4 separate regions of the Homo sapiens genome follow, and all the other regions are linked to region 1. Evidence: promoter capture Hi-C in 16 types of primary human blood cells and fetal thymus (Javierre and others, 2016). All regions are on one chromosome and are shown on one strand. The core of a region is centred on a gene start or on the middle of the fragment in contact, and the rest is flanking DNA. Distances in the headings are between cores, read along the strand shown.

Region 1 (3,603 bases), core at 597-3,096:
TAAAATGAAAACAATCTTTGAAAACCAAGAAGTTACGGTAATTGGGTCTCAGACCAATGCTTTTCCTTAAATGGAATTTGTCTAAAGAGCCACATCTTCCCCATCACCATTCTCTTAAGTATCTACACACAAATGGGGCATTAGTTGGAAATCAAACTAAATATAACCATGAAAACTTAGTCCATGATATCACGGATTGATGGTAACTTCTGAAGATTACTTTCTCCAATTCTTCACTTTTTTGCATATGTGATAAGGTCAGTAAGAAAATGTAGGAAATTATAGTTTAAAATAATCATAAGATTTAAGATGCTCTAAGTCCTTCTTGTTTCTAAGTGTATCAACCACAATTGAATGTTGAACTCTTAAACACTACAAGAGAAGACTGAGGTTAGGGGCAATTCTTTTCGATATATGTATAAAGGAATATTCCTTCAACATGGAAGTCTTGGAATGAATTTCATGTAAGAAGGGGACTGATGAATGAGGAAAGAAAGGAAGCCATCACCTGACATGCAGCAGCTCCCTCACCCCGTTTTCCTCCACCCCAAAAGCTGTAGGAAGTAGAAAGCTGCAGAATGTACCTTCCAGGCCAGGAGCAAAACATTGAGGATGGCCAGCAAGGGGCAGGGTCCGTTCTCATTCTGGGTGATGATGGGTGTGTTCTCTTCCTTCCACTGGATCCACTTGATGTGATACACAGATTGTCCCGGGAAGCGTTCCTTGGAGGCCGCCAGCACCTGAGCGGTCTCCTCCCCCTCCTCCTCCTTGCACAGAGGAACAGCCCCGGGCAACACCGCCGCGCCCTCCTCCTCCTCAGGGACCCTGTTCTCCGCTCCCTCCTCACTATTGAACTCGCAGCTACTGGGAAAAGAATGCAGGTTAGAGAACGACTCCAGAGAGTCCAGGCTCGGAGATTCCCCAGGAGGGCTCGGGTCGCTGCAACTGCTGCTGAGGCCGCCGGCGCTGCTGGGCTCTTCGGAGCCGGCGGCGGTCAGTTCTGCTTGGCAGGTGCCGGCGAGATCCGGGCGGGCTCCCGCGTCTCCGGCGGTACCCAACTCATGACCCACTCCGGCCACGGCTGTCTCCGGGGAGGCGGTCACCTTGTACTGCCCTCTCAGAGGCGCCTCGGCGGCAGCAGGACTCTCCAAACCACTGTCCTTCAAGTCCAAACCCGCGGAGGAGCTGCAGGGTCCGGGAACCTCAGGAGAGCCCGCGGGAGAAGCCGAGTCCGGGAGGCTCCTCCTGGCGGCCGCCGCCCCCAGCCCATTCCCGCCGCTGGTCTCCGCCGCCCATACCCCAGGACCATCACCAGCGGCGAGCCTGGTCTCCTGTAGCCCTTCCTGCGAAGAACCTGTCCCTGACGCTGGCCCGGCCGCCACCCCGTGTTCTAGCGGCTGCAGGCTCTCGGGGCTGCTCTCCATACCGGGCCGCCCGCCCCCAGCTCTATGGAGACCGCGGCCACTTCTCCGCAGCCAGCGCCTTGGACGCCATGACAGCTGTATTGGCAGCAACAGCGCCCTGGCGCGGCCTCGGTCAGGCACGTCACCGGGGAGAGTACTAAGAACGCGCGCGGGCGCGCGCTACCGCTCTGTCCGTGCGCTCTGAGCTTGCCTCCGCCTGACTGCGCGCTGAGAGGCGAAGGCGAACCACTCAGCAGCCGCCCACGTGGCCCAGCCCTTTCCGTGCGTCCGACCGAGCTCGCTCTCGGAAGGCCGGGCGTGGAGGGCGTGGCTAGGAGGGCGCGGCCGGGGGGCGCGCCCCCGCGGCTCAGCTCCAGTAGGAAAACATCCTCTCACTATGTGGCCGGAAGTTGAACTCCCGGGCAGCTCCCTTGTGTGCGGCTTCTTTAAAGGGAAGGCAGGAGGCGGACAGCTTGGCTGTGACCCTTTAGCGCTGGGTCGCGTGTGGCCCACCCTCGGCCTGAGGCATTGTTGGGTGGTTGGAGGTGGTTGTAGTATTTGGAAAAGAACTTGTCCCTGAAGGGCTCAGGGGACTTGGTTTCTCAGCTCCTAATATGGAAAATTAAGGCATTTCTTACGAGATGCAGATTTTAAAGCAGGCATATCTACTCGACGGCTTTGGATTACTGCACTGCACAAATTCCAGTCTCTGTCGGTTTTGGCTGAGAAGAGCTGTGCTTCTCACCAGCTACTGGTGAGACATTCGCCCTACAGGAAAGGGTCGGTATGATTGTGGACATTGACATGCGTAGCAAAAGAAAGTGGCTAATTTGCGCCAATAATAATAAATTAGCTTGTATTTGAATTAGCCAAGTCTTTGCGGTTTTGCTAACTTGGCTTCACTTTGCATGGAGTGGGAAGCGCCTGCTTCTGAAAAGGTGACTTTTTTCCTAATTAGAATGGACTCCTCTTAAGGCCATGCAGTTTTCAAAGAAGAAAGACAAGCTGGACGTTTTGTTAGTAACAAAATGTATGTGGGTCCTATTCTAACTTGTTACAGAAAAGGGCTTTTTCCCCCATCTTTTTTCTTTCAACATTTTCTAGGCTGTTGGGGATAAAAAATTAACGAGACAGGTCTTCCTTCGCAGACATATAAATACCTGATACATAATTAGAATGTGATATTTTTGCACCTCTGTTGGTTAGAGAAGGCAGACAAGATTGCAAAGTAGTATTTCATTCATTCCTTTAATACATTTTAGTACCAAGTAAGTTGCTGGATGCTGTCTGTCACTGGAGATGCCATAGTGGATCACGGAGCTTATATCTTCATGGAGCTTACTGTCTTTTTTTTTCTTATTGCTATTTTTTAATACATACTTATATGTTTTTTTGTTTTTGTTTTTGCTTTTGTTTTTTTTTTTTTTTGAAACGGAGTCTCTCTCTGTCGCCCAGGCTGGAGTGCAGTGGCACGATCTTGGCTCACTGCAACCTCCGCCTCCCGGGTTCAAGCGATTCTCCTGCCTCAGCCTCCCGAGTAGCTGGGACTATAGGCGCCCGCCACCATGCCTGGCTAATTTGTTGTTGTTGTTGTTTTTGAGACGGAGTCTTGCTCTGTCGCCCAGGCTGGCGTGCAGTGGCGCGATCTCGGCTCACTGCAAGCTCCGCCTCCCGGGTTCACGCCATTCTCCTGCCTCAGCCTCCTGAGTAGCTGGGACTACAGGCGCCCGCCACCACGCCCAGCTAACTTTTTGTATTTTTAGTAGAGACGGGGTTTCACCGTGTTAGCCAGGATGGTCTTGATCTCCTGACCTCGTGATCTGCCCACCTCGGCCCCCAAAGTGCTAGGATTACAGGCGTGAGCCACCATGCCCGGCCACACATAATATGTATTACATATAATACATGAATGTTGGATACTTATATTCTTGTTTACCTGAGAATGCAGAAGACTGTGCCCCTTTTTTTTTTTTTTTTTTTTTTTTTCCCACTTGAGACGCAGTCTCGCTTTGTCACCCAGGCTATAGTACAGTGGCGCCATCTCAGCTCATTGCAACCTCCACCTCCCGGGTTCAAGTGATTCTCCTGCCTCAGCCTCCCAAGTAGCTGGGACTACAGGCGCACGCCACCAGGTCCAGCTAATTTTTTTTGTATTTTTAGTAAAGACGAGGTTTCACTACCTTGGCCAGGCTGGTCTCTA
Region 2 (3,603 bases), core at 523-3,022, 330 kb after region 1:
TTGACAGAATCCAATCCAGAATTCCCCTTGCTTTCCACCCCTTCCTTAGACTCAACCAGCACAAGCCCAAGTCTGGAGTGAGCTCTCCCTTGCTGCAGTAAACCACAGAAACTGACTTGCAATTGATGTCAGCTGTGTTCCCCATGGTCCGCGGATGGTGAATGTTTACGTCTCTAAAATGGGAATAAGAATTCCTACCCAATATTCTTTACAGGGCTACTGTAAGAATCAAGTCATATAATGCAGGTGGGAATGAATTTTTAAAGTTGAAATTGCTGTTAAGTCTATAAGTGAGTATGACGTGGAATTTCCAAATGGTTCTCTTTTCAGATGTAGAATAAGATATTTTTAAGATGGAAGATTCATATTAAGCTCCTGTTATGTGCTCCTGCTTCAGTTTCATGGGTGTTAATCTTTCCCATGATTTAGTGTTAAGCATAGCAATTCATAAGAAAACTTCAAAGAGACTTGCTCCAAGCCTTGAGGCTTGTCTTGGAGGAAAAGCTGAGTGTTTGCGGGTGTAGGGCCAGGTGAGCTTGCAAAACTGGTCCCTGCTGGGCCCCACCCCTGCCCTTGCCTGCTGGGAACCTTGTTCTCTATCAGGGAGTGGCCAGGGTTTTAGCCAGGCTGAGATAAGTCTATCAATCCATCTGGGAAAGGCAGCCTTTTAAAAACAACCCCCCTCATCAGTGGTCTGCCCTGCCTCCAGGATGAGGACAAAACTTCTGAGGATGGCCCTTCCTGTCCTTCCCTCTGGCCACTTCTTTTTATGTACCCCATCCAGGGCCACCCCAAAATCTCAAGAATTCCCAACTTCACTCTCCCTTTTCCAGCCTCTGAGTCAAGCAAGGCTGGTTCATGTTTTTTTTCCCTCTGCTTACAATGTCCTTCCACTTCTTGAAGGAAACTTCAAGATTCAACTCAGATATCACCTCCTCTGTAAAGGCTTCTCAGCTAACCTGCGCTGCCTCAGGGCTCTTGTAACATTTTGCATGTAGTGTTATTTACAAACTAATTGCATTGTGTTGAAATTATGCGCCTCTCCCAATCTCCAACCTCCCTGCCCCCACACACACCCCATAAGGGGCTAGAGACCCTGGCACAGTGGGAAGTCCTTGGTGAGTGGATGTACGCTTTTTCATTTTTGTACCCTCAGGGATATACTTTCCTACTGACCATGGGGCCTGGTACACAGCGGACAGTTTAATAAATGCTGTCACAGCTGCTGTTGATCTTGTTATGTTTCAGTATAAAGCAGTTTGTTTTCTTACCACTTTAGTTTCTCTTGGGACAAGGAAGCTGGAACATTTGTCACTGGAAAGTTTTTGGCAGTCACGGAAAGGTCAGTCCTAGTCAACGGATAACCCATAGGCTCTGCCCTGCTTTGATAATGCCTCACTCATAGGAAAAGAATTTTCCTGATCATATTTTCAGGCCTGCCAAGGAGCCGCTCAGGGTGGATGGTTAATTAGCTTTTGCAATGATTATTTTTCTACCAATTACAAGTAATGCTCAGCTTGGGAATTTTTGTTCATTTCAAGGACTGCTTTCTTTTTAGCATGTAGATATTTTATTTTGGACAAATACATTTTCACAAATATCTTGGGGTTTTAAATACTTTTGGGGTTGTAGCTACTGGGGAAGAAGTCAGTATCCAGGAGCAGTGGATGTTGATTCTCACCCCTTCAACCCTAGAAAGTTAGAAGTGAAGTGAGGTTTGCCCTGTAGCCTCGTGTTGTTTCTGTAGGAAGCACCCTAGCCTGGAAGTCAGTAACCTAGTTTCAAGTCTTGGTTCTTTTGTTTTTTCTCTAGTGGTTCTCTGTGGTCCCCACACCAGCAGCATCATTTGGGAACTGCTGAGAAACGTAAATATCCAAGTCTACCCCAGGCTCACTGAATCAGCAACTCTGTAGTTAGGGCCCCAGAATCTTATTTTAATAAGCCCTGGCCGGGGGCGGTGGCTCACGCCTGTAATCCCAGCACTTTGGGAGGCTGAGGCGGGCAGATCACGAAGTCAAGAGTTCGAGACCAGCCTGGCCAACATGGTGAAACCCCATCTCTACTAAAAGTACAAAAAATAGCTGGGCGTGGTGTTGTGTGTCTGTAATCGCGGCTACTCAGGAGGCTGAGGCAGGAGAACTGCTTGAACCCGGGAGGCAGAGGTTGCTGCGAGCCAAGACTGTGCCACTGCACTCCAGCCTGGGCGACAGAGCAAGACTCCGTCTCAGGAAAAACAAACAAACAAAAAAAGCAGCCTTTTAGGTGCTTCATTACCCACTACAGTTCCAGGATCACTGATCTAGTCAAACTCCTTTATTTTATCATTTCGTAGTAAATTTATTTTCTGATTATTTAAATCATGAAAGTCAATATACCATATACATACTATAACATTACATAAAGAGGGGAAGAGACAAAAGTTCAGATACAAACTCAACGGACGTATAAACATTTTCATGCATCTTCTTCCAGCATTTTTTCTCAAACACATGTATTTTCACACAGTTGTAATCACAGGACACACACAATGAGGCCTGCTCTTCATGTTGGGACATAAACACTACTCAGCGTCGCCACCTACACATCTTCCTGAGAACTATTTTTAAGGGCCACTGCCAGTCCACTGGAGAGCCGTGCCAGAACTGACTTCACCAGGCCCTGAATATGAACCTGCACAAGTGGAGGTGAAAACGCTGTAGACAAAGAGGCCTCCGCTTGCATTCCATGCATTTCCTTCTCTTCTCTTCACTTTTTCCCCATGCCTCCCCACCCCTAGCCAAGCCCCACTGGGGAAAAAATGAAATGAGGAATGCTTCTGGAAATAGACCCCTAAGTGGGAAGGAAAGGGAAGTTAGCCAACAGCCTCATCTTCCAGTCACCCAGAAACTCCATTCTCCTGAGCCAGAAACCCTCTCCTGGAACTCCGAAGCAGCTGAGATGTCACTGCGCTACTTTGTGACCATGTTTAGGAATTGCACCTTCTGTGGGGCAGCCGGGTGGGCGCCCTGACTCCTCCAGGGCTGGAGTGACTGGATTTGGTCTTCTCGCCCCAAGTAGGTACCTGAATGTAAGACCCGACTGCCTTTCTTACCGCGGCTCCTCCACCCGCTGCTGGACAGACTAGGCTCGGCCCCCTTGTTCTAGTTATCACCTTGGGACTGAAGTCCAGCCTGCTGGGCAGGGATCTGGAGGGTCCTATTGGCCCCTAGTCAGCCCTTTTCCCTGGTGGGTTGGACCCCATTTCCCAGCTGAGAGCGCCCCACTCGAAACTGGTCACTGTCCTGGGGGCCAGCGCACAGTACCTTCCTGGCTGTGAGAATCGCTGTGACCTCTGTTCTACGTGGAGCCCGTGGCTGTCAGGGACACCCAGGCTGAGGCCTGGGTGGTTGCATTCCCCTCATGATGAAATGGGGACTGTTCTGCCCTGTCTCGGGGCCCAGCCTCTTTCTGCCTCTCTCCCTGCTGTGCCAACTGTGATGACCCAGCATGCCCGCAGCACTGTGGCAGCTGATGTGGAGAGGAGGGCAGGGAGAGGGCCATCGTGGGTAGCCAGGTACCAGATTCTCTTGGCTTTTGGCTGCGCACTCATTTGGCGATTCATGT
Region 3 (3,603 bases), core at 721-3,220, 310 kb after region 1:
ACTTTACGAAGTGATTACAGTAAGTACTGTGTGAGCATTTCATATGACCTGCAAAGAGAAGAAGGAAACCATGTGCTTTGCAGGAGGTAAAATGCTCAGCTGACTGAGATGCTGGAAGGTCTTATGGGGTCATATGAATGGGCAGGAAAATAGAAGATGACCTTTGATGCAGACAAAGCCATTATGTGTTTAGGGAAAAGTAGCCCAAACAACATAGAAAGTGGTTGCCTCTGACCCAGAGTGTATAAACCAGAGAAGAATTTTGGTCTTCGCAGCTTGTTTCTTACCTGTGATGCTAGTTTGGTCAAGATGGCTAACCAAGTGTTTAAAATTACCATACATCCTTAGAATAAAGAAGCCATAGAGATCATGTGATCTATTGATGGATTTAATTTTATAAGATGAGAAAACTCAGGCCCAGAGAGCTAAGTGGCTTGTTCAAGGTTCTATAACTACTTAGAAAATGTTTTGTATACCAGATGGAAAACATCAGTCTACCTTTCACGAAACTAAGACACCTGACAAAGGCTGCCTTAAAGAGTGTGGGGGAATTTCCAGAACCTTTTTACTTCTAATCACTCTCTATGAGTCACCCGCTAGGAGTTCTAATCACACCACCATTAGGTGGAAAGTTGACCAAATGGTCCCTCAGCACGTCCCATCGCATTGCTGTAAAAGTCAAATCATTGAGATGGATAGATATCTCACGACTAGTAACATTTTCTACATAATCTTACATAAATGATTCCTAATAAATTACACAGACAGGACTTCACAGTGAAATCACAAGTGAGTTTAGTACAGGCATAATGATGACAGCCCAAACATCTGTTGGTTTTGGAAGTAAGTTTTCCTATTTTAGAACTAGCACTGAATCATCAGGAGATGGGGCTTGATAGAACTTCAGAGGAATTTTAGATCTCTACCAAAAGATCTAATTCCTCTGCCCTGTATTAATTAGAAACGGTAGACATCGAGGGCTATGATTGTCTCCCTAGTTTCCCACGTACCTATTCCTTCCTTGACAACACACCAGAGAGAGTAGAGAAGACAGAAGATTAGAGAGCTTTGATGCTTTTAGTGTGGGACCGGTGATGACTGCCCTCTTGGACTCTATCTTCCCAGGACGGGTCCAAGCTTCCTGGTCCCCTTGCCTTGTCTGAGCCTTCCTGCCCCAGCTGACTTCCTAGGCCTGTGAATGCCTAACCCAAGTACTTACCTGCTTCCTCCAACTTCCTGGATTCACTTGGGACTCCATCCGTTATGTTACGGTTCTGACCCGTAATCTACACCTCACCTCTGCCCTTGGTTGAGCATTTGGTCTTTGTCTCTTCCTCCCAGCCCAGCCCTACATGTCAGTCATGTCCTACAATCTATAATTGATCACTGTAATGTCCCATTTAAATTTTTTTCTGTTGTTCATGTGGAATTTAATGGAACTCTTTTCTAAAAATGTGAATTTGAAAAACCTTCAGTCTACACTAAGACTATTGAAGAGCACAGTCTGTGTTAAAAGCCAGATGTAAAAACTGTTGGCTTTCATAAGAGGTACCAATTATAAGTAAATATCCATCAATCAATAAACACATCCTGCTCCAAGGTGCAAAGATTAGGGGAGCAGTCAAGTGGGGGAAATGAGTTGTTCTGATTGGAAGAAGGGGGGTGACATGGACAGATGTAGGGTGCACTTGACACAGAATCTTCTTTTTCCCCTGGTTCCTGAGGGGATAAGACATAGGAACCCAAAACATCAGAAAAGTAAGGTAGCAGTGATAGGGCTTTTCTTTCCTCCAGTGCAAACCAGCCATAGTATTATTCTTTTATTCGGACTTTAGATGAGAAGCCCTATATGTTTTGTTGTGTGGTGGGCTCCCCCCTCGCTCCCCATTTTTGAGACAGAGTCTCACTCTGTTGCCCAGGCTGGAGTACAGTGGCACAGTCTTGGCTCACTGCAACCTCCACCTCCCAGGTTCAAGCGATTTTTCTGCCTCAGTCTCCTGAGTAGCTGGGACTACAGGTGCACACCACCACACCCAGCTAACTTTTGTATTTTTAGTACAGACCGAGTTTCACCATGTTGCCCAAGCTAGTTTTGAACCCCTGACCTCAGATGATCTGCCCGCCTTGGCTTCCCAAAGTGCTGGGATTACAGGTGTGAGCCACCATGCCTGGCCACCCTGTGTGTTTTGATGTGTGGTCAAGCCACTGAAATTTCTAGAAAAACAAGGAGCCCGGGAAGGACTCATCCCAAGAAGTTGAAGGTGAGTTAGAAAATTGGCTACTACCCAAGTTAGACAGAATTCAAGGACTGGCATAAGCTGTGATGAATAGCAACTAAAGAATGGAGCTCTGATGCTTAATGTTTATATGTCTTTAAACCTTGCTTTAAATAAAATGCTTTATTTGTACTAGTTAAGTATTTGCTATGATGTGTTGCTTTAATGAAAAGCTCTGTTGAACTCTGTTGTGTGGGAAAGCAGGTTGGGCTTTGATTGGATTAACCATGCAGATAGGGAGTTAGGCTCTTTGGAGCCGAGTTGGTTCACACAGGCGGCACTACCCACCTACAGGTGTCCATCGCACCTGCGTTATGAGTACTGCTCCTAGGAAACCAGGCTCTGAGAGTACCAGCCTAGGAAACTTGAGCCAATAAAGTCACCACAAAGACCACAGCACTTAAAGATAGAAAGGGGCAAGTATAGAGGGGGTTGGGAGGGTGACAGGTGCATGCTCCTTTTATCATGATTTTAAAAAATAATACAGTGCTTTTGACAATTTTTTTTTCAAAAAAAATGAAAGCTTTGGATTTTTCAGGTGGGGTTATTTGCCTTTCATCTGTGTTTTCTCTACTGTTCTATTTACTGATCCATTACTTTCATCTTTGAAACCTGTCATTGTGGACTCTTGTATCAATGTAACTATCTGTTAAAAGGCTTTTTGCTTTTCGGGTCAGAAGTGTTTAATATCAGACATTTTAAATGATTTTATTTGTATTGACCTCAAACTTGAAAGTTATGCAAGAGGTACTGTAAAATTAAGTATTCAAAGAGATGAATGCCTTTATTGGACTTTTTTGATGAGCAGAGAGGTTGAGGGGTCCTAAGGGAGTGATGGAAAAGTGGAAAACTGACCAGGACCCAATGCCTAGGTCGCCGAGAAACAGGGCAAGAAAGAGGTCAAGGAGATGGGAGTGGAGCGGGTGAATACCTGCGCAATCTCAGGACACAGAAAAGACCTGATGGATTCTTTCCTTTCTTTCCTGGTTAGAGGAGGGGCATGGGTGACCCAGTCTGGCTGCAGGAGCTCAGGTAGGATAGACGAGTTTGGGGCAAAATGGTGGGTGCTGTAGCTTAAAGGGGAGCAGTGGGCGGGAAGTTGAGTCAGCCTGGGCTGGTGCATTGTGGATATAGCACAGCTTGAGAGGGTGGAGAGGAGTGGGAGAGTAAAAGAGCAGAGCAGTTTCTGAAAGCTTGGTGTGGTCTGGGTCACAGACTCCTGCAGATGTTCTGAGGGATCAAGCCCTTTTCCCGAGGCCCCAGAGCTCACTGAAGCTAGAACCTAGACTGCAGGCCCTACCAACATTCTTTGCTCTACGCAAGTGGC
Region 4 (3,603 bases), core at 308-2,807, 280 kb after region 1:
GGTATGTCACTGCTGGGATTAGATTGTGAAAGACTAGGCCTTCCATTGTGGAGCCTCTTGCTCTCTCTGGGGATTCTCTCTCTTGCTGTGGGAGAAGCCAACTGCCATGTTGTGAGCAGCTTTAGGGAGAGGCCCCCATGGCAAGGAACTGAAGCCTCTGTCCCAGTAGCTGCAGGGATCTGGGGCCTGCCAATCTCCTCATGAGCATTATTCTCCAGCCTCAGTGGAGTCTTACCTCTGTACTAGGAGGCAAGGTGACCTCCTCCAGAACCCCTACTCTCATTTCTTAAAACCTCTCCTCCTACCTGGGGTTGTTCTAGTAAATAAAGTTCCCCCACAAGCAATTCATTCCTTTCAGTACCCATTGCCATCTTCCTGTGCGTCTCATGAAGAAAACACCCGTGGGAGTTGTTCATGCTTAAGGAGGTTTCAATTTCTTTTATAGTGAGCCATATAAATATATATAAACTTATATATTCAAATATATAAATATTATAGATATATTAACATTTAAAAAATATTTCACATATACAAATATATACAAAATTTTGTATAAATTTTATTTATACGTAATAAATTTTGTATAAATTTTATTTATACGTAATAAATTTTGTATAAATTTTATTTATACGTAATAAATTTTGTATAAATTTTATTTATACGTAATAAATTTTGTATAAATTTTATTTATATGTAATAAATTTTGTATATATACAAAATACATACTTTTTTTCTAGGTGTGTATATATGTATATATACACAAAAAAATATATATATATTTTAAATTGTGAATGGCAGGATCTAATGTGTGCATAGTGAGCCAAACTCGGGTGTGGGCCAGGCACATATGGAGTCTTTATTTCTTGTCTGTTTTCCTAGGTTCCCTACGATGCCCCAGTTTTGTGACATAATTTCAGTGGAGTTAAAGATCCCACAGCACCAGCTGCTAGTCCAAACGGGCAGACAGTAGGCAGGCTGTGGTGGAGTGCTGGCGGGAGGAGGTGGCCGGCAGAGAGAACCTCCTCGCCTTGCTAGTTATGTGAGCTTCCTAATCATGTGAAGTTGATTTTGCTGAGTCATCACTGATGAGGGTATGGGTTCTTTTGGTCTGATGATGATGTGAGATACCATGGGGGGCCAGGGTGGATGGGAAGCTTCCTAAGTATGAGTTTACTTATTAAATCAGTTTTCTTCATGACAGCAAGAAAGTTCTGGATCACTGGGAGAATGGAAGAGCACCTGGCGCCAGGATTTAGCAGAGATATCATTTAGGAATCCATCAGGAATGGAAGAGCATGTAGAAAATTAGGGGCATACGGGGGAAAATAAGCTCTGATGTAATCCTGCAGATTTGCCCAGGGCCCCCTCTCCTGTTCTTGGCCAGCTGTCAGGAGGAAAAGGCTCTGTGAATGATGTCTTACTCAGGCACCTGTTTATGGATTTCCATCCTGTCCCAGGGATATTTGGGTTTAAGGAGGGGGGTGAGTGAAACTTTAAAACAAAACAGAACAAAAAACAAAAATAGAGGAATTCCAGGCACCAGGTGGAGATTGGTGGGACAGAGCCCTAGATTTGGTTTTAGAACTCTACCACTGGCTTGATTGGCTTTGGGTGGCTACATTTGCAGAGCTGGGTGGCACAGAGCTAAAAGAATGGGCCTGAGTGGGAACTTGGGCTCTTGTGGACTGTGTGGCCTTGGGCAGGTAACTTGGCCTCTTTGGATTGTCCTTGTTTGTAAAACGAAATTCAATGATAGTTCATAGCTAATACTTTTGTGGGGGTTTAGAGTAGGAGAATGCTTAGTACAGACTTGCCACATAGTAGAATAAAGATAAGCTATTACAGCTTTATAATGTGTTTATATTATGGCTATGTATATTATAGTAACATTACAATAATATCAATTAATGACAGTAATATTAATATACTACAGCTATGTAATAATACCTAGGAAGCTTCCATGGCCATAGAGAGCATGGTTTTAGGTTTCTTCCACTTGCCTGACCTTTCCTACCTGCCATTCACAAACATCAAAGCAGGCCAAGTTGAGGATCTGCTAGGAACTGAGGGCAGGGTGGGCCACAGGCCATCTGGGGAGGGTGCTTGTTCTTCTGGGTAGAATGCTTGGGGAGCCTCCCCTGCTGTCAGATTCTGGGTGGCACCTCTGTTCTTGGCAGGGACAGTCCCTCTCTGGGGCTGGGGAAGGCTGTACAATGGGTGCTCTGTTGCTTGCTGGGACCATGTCAAGGTATCCAACTGGGTCAGAAATGCAGCTACAGAGCTGGGACCCCCTGCTCCAGGTCATGTGTGAAAGTGTGGGCAGAGAGACCTCCAGCCTCCAGGCCTGTTAGCATCTCTGGAAGGACCAATAGGAATCACGTGGCAGGCAGTGTTTCTGGCACCCTGAGCTCTCAGTGGGGTCAACAGTCCTGTGGTACCCCAGCCCTCTTAGGTCAGGCCAGGGATGAGGGAAGGGCCAGTGCTTTGTACCTCTGGTCAGGCAATGGCAGTTTCCCACTAAAGCCCTACGACTTTGACTCTTGTCCCAGAAGTTTTACCACACACTGAATAAAAGTACGACTGTGAAGTTGTTGCTGCCTGACAGCTGGTTGCAAAACTGTGCCTTGCCCAGCACCTGGCACCAGTATTTGGCAGAGATATCATTTAGGAATCCATCAGGAATTTGGTCTCTGGGGTATGAAACTGAGGTGGGGAAGGAGAGGGTGGAGAGGGTTGGTTTAAAGTAACTTTAGCACCTCTTATTGTTTTAAGTAGTCTGCCAGGCAGTGACATTCATTTGGTCTTTTAAACCTGACAACCAAGATAGTATTATAATTATTCCCACTCTACAGGCCAGGAAACTGAGCCTCAGAGAAGCTGAGTGACTTGCCTTGGTGACACATCTGGGGAGAGTAGAGTGAGGATTAAAGCCTGCTGCTGTCTGCTTGAAATTCCCATGCTCTGACCACTCTATGGCACTGCCTGGCTGGACTAACTATTTCCCTATTGTGTTTGGCAGGTGCTGTCATTTCATGAAAGGCCAGTCTAAGTGTCTAGCTCTAGAGCTTTCTTTGGCGATGGGGCGGGCGTGTGTGCACGGGATGTCTGTCCTCTTGCGGCCTGGCTGTCAGGAGCTAAGAATTCAGACCAGGCTCCCTTTACCTGTTCTTCAAGGGTGCTTTTGTTCCTTGACCTCCAGATTTTAGGAGATAAATTTGAGAATGACTCTGAGGCTATAATCTAGAAATCTAATCCCCTGTGAACTCCATTCCTTCCTGGCTATTTAATGGGCTCGCTCTTTCCTTAGGAGGTGAGCTGTGGCCAGGCTTCCACCTGGGTGTAATTAGTATCCTCCACACTTCTCAGGCTCTGGGCTCTCAGAGACCTGAAATTTTTGCAAGTGCTGCCCTCCTCCCTAATAACTGGCTGGCAGTGGTTCATCAGAGCCGGAAGCGACCAGGTAGCACGTCTCACTGCCTCCCTTTCCGTGTCGCCTGGGAGACAAATCAGGCGCTCCACCCACTCCCAGCCCCGGGTTCAGAGAGCTGGAGATGACGGGAGAAAACATTTCTCCATATTTCATTGTTGTGTTTTAATTTATAT

What was found. The method cuts DNA at HindIII sites, captures the fragments that hold promoters and counts their contacts. A CHiCAGO score of 5 or more calls a contact.
Region 2: a contact is called between a fragment that was not itself captured here and the fragment with the promoter of MINDY2-DT in region 1, in 4 of 17 cell types (total CD4 T cells, erythroblasts, fetal thymus and 1 more). The highest score is 8.0, in total CD4 T cells.
Region 3: a contact is called between a fragment that was not itself captured here and the fragment with the promoter of MINDY2-DT in region 1, in 1 of 17 cell types (fetal thymus). The highest score is 8.4, in fetal thymus.
Region 4: a fragment that was not itself captured here is called in contact with the fragment with the promoter of MINDY2-DT in region 1 in 1 of 17 cell types (naive CD4 T cells); the score reaches 5.4 in naive CD4 T cells.

The regions. Positions count from the first base shown.
Region 1 is chr15:58,769,217-58,772,819 of GRCh38, reverse strand. It overlaps MINDY2-DT (MINDY2 divergent transcript), which reads left to right and starts at 1,846. Exons shown (of 2, transcript NR_135474.1): 1 at 1,846-2,433. It overlaps MINDY2 (MINDY lysine 48 deubiquitinase 2), which reads right to left and starts at 1,518. Exons shown (of 9, transcript NM_001040450.3): 1 at 585-1,518. The coding sequence starts at 1,424. RefSeq lists a silencer at 1,564-1,843 and an enhancer at 1,656-2,581. The HindIII fragment of the contact is 12,290 bases long and covers 1-3,603 here.
Region 2 is chr15:58,438,085-58,441,687 of GRCh38, reverse strand. The region is part of intron 1 of LIPC (lipase C, hepatic type); the gene reads right to left. All of the region lies in intron 2 of LIPC-AS1 (LIPC antisense RNA 1), which reads left to right. Among named protein-coding and RNA genes, the nearest start is that of LIPC, 7.9 kb to the right of the region's middle. RefSeq lists a silencer at 2,433-2,673. The HindIII fragment of the contact is 7,142 bases long and covers 1-3,603 here.
Region 3 is chr15:58,463,262-58,466,864 of GRCh38, reverse strand. The region is part of intron 1 of LIPC (lipase C, hepatic type); the gene reads right to left. The region is part of intron 2 of LIPC-AS1 (LIPC antisense RNA 1); the gene reads left to right. Among named protein-coding and RNA genes, the nearest start is that of LIPC, 33 kb to the right of the region's middle. RefSeq lists a silencer at 2,632-2,721. The HindIII fragment of the contact is 1,662 bases long and covers 1,140-2,801 here.
Region 4 is chr15:58,490,647-58,494,249 of GRCh38, reverse strand. The region is part of intron 1 of LIPC (lipase C, hepatic type); the gene reads right to left. The region is part of intron 2 of LIPC-AS1 (LIPC antisense RNA 1); the gene reads left to right. Among named protein-coding and RNA genes, the nearest start is that of LIPC-AS1, 6.3 kb to the left of the region's middle. The HindIII fragment of the contact is 801 bases long and covers 1,157-1,957 here.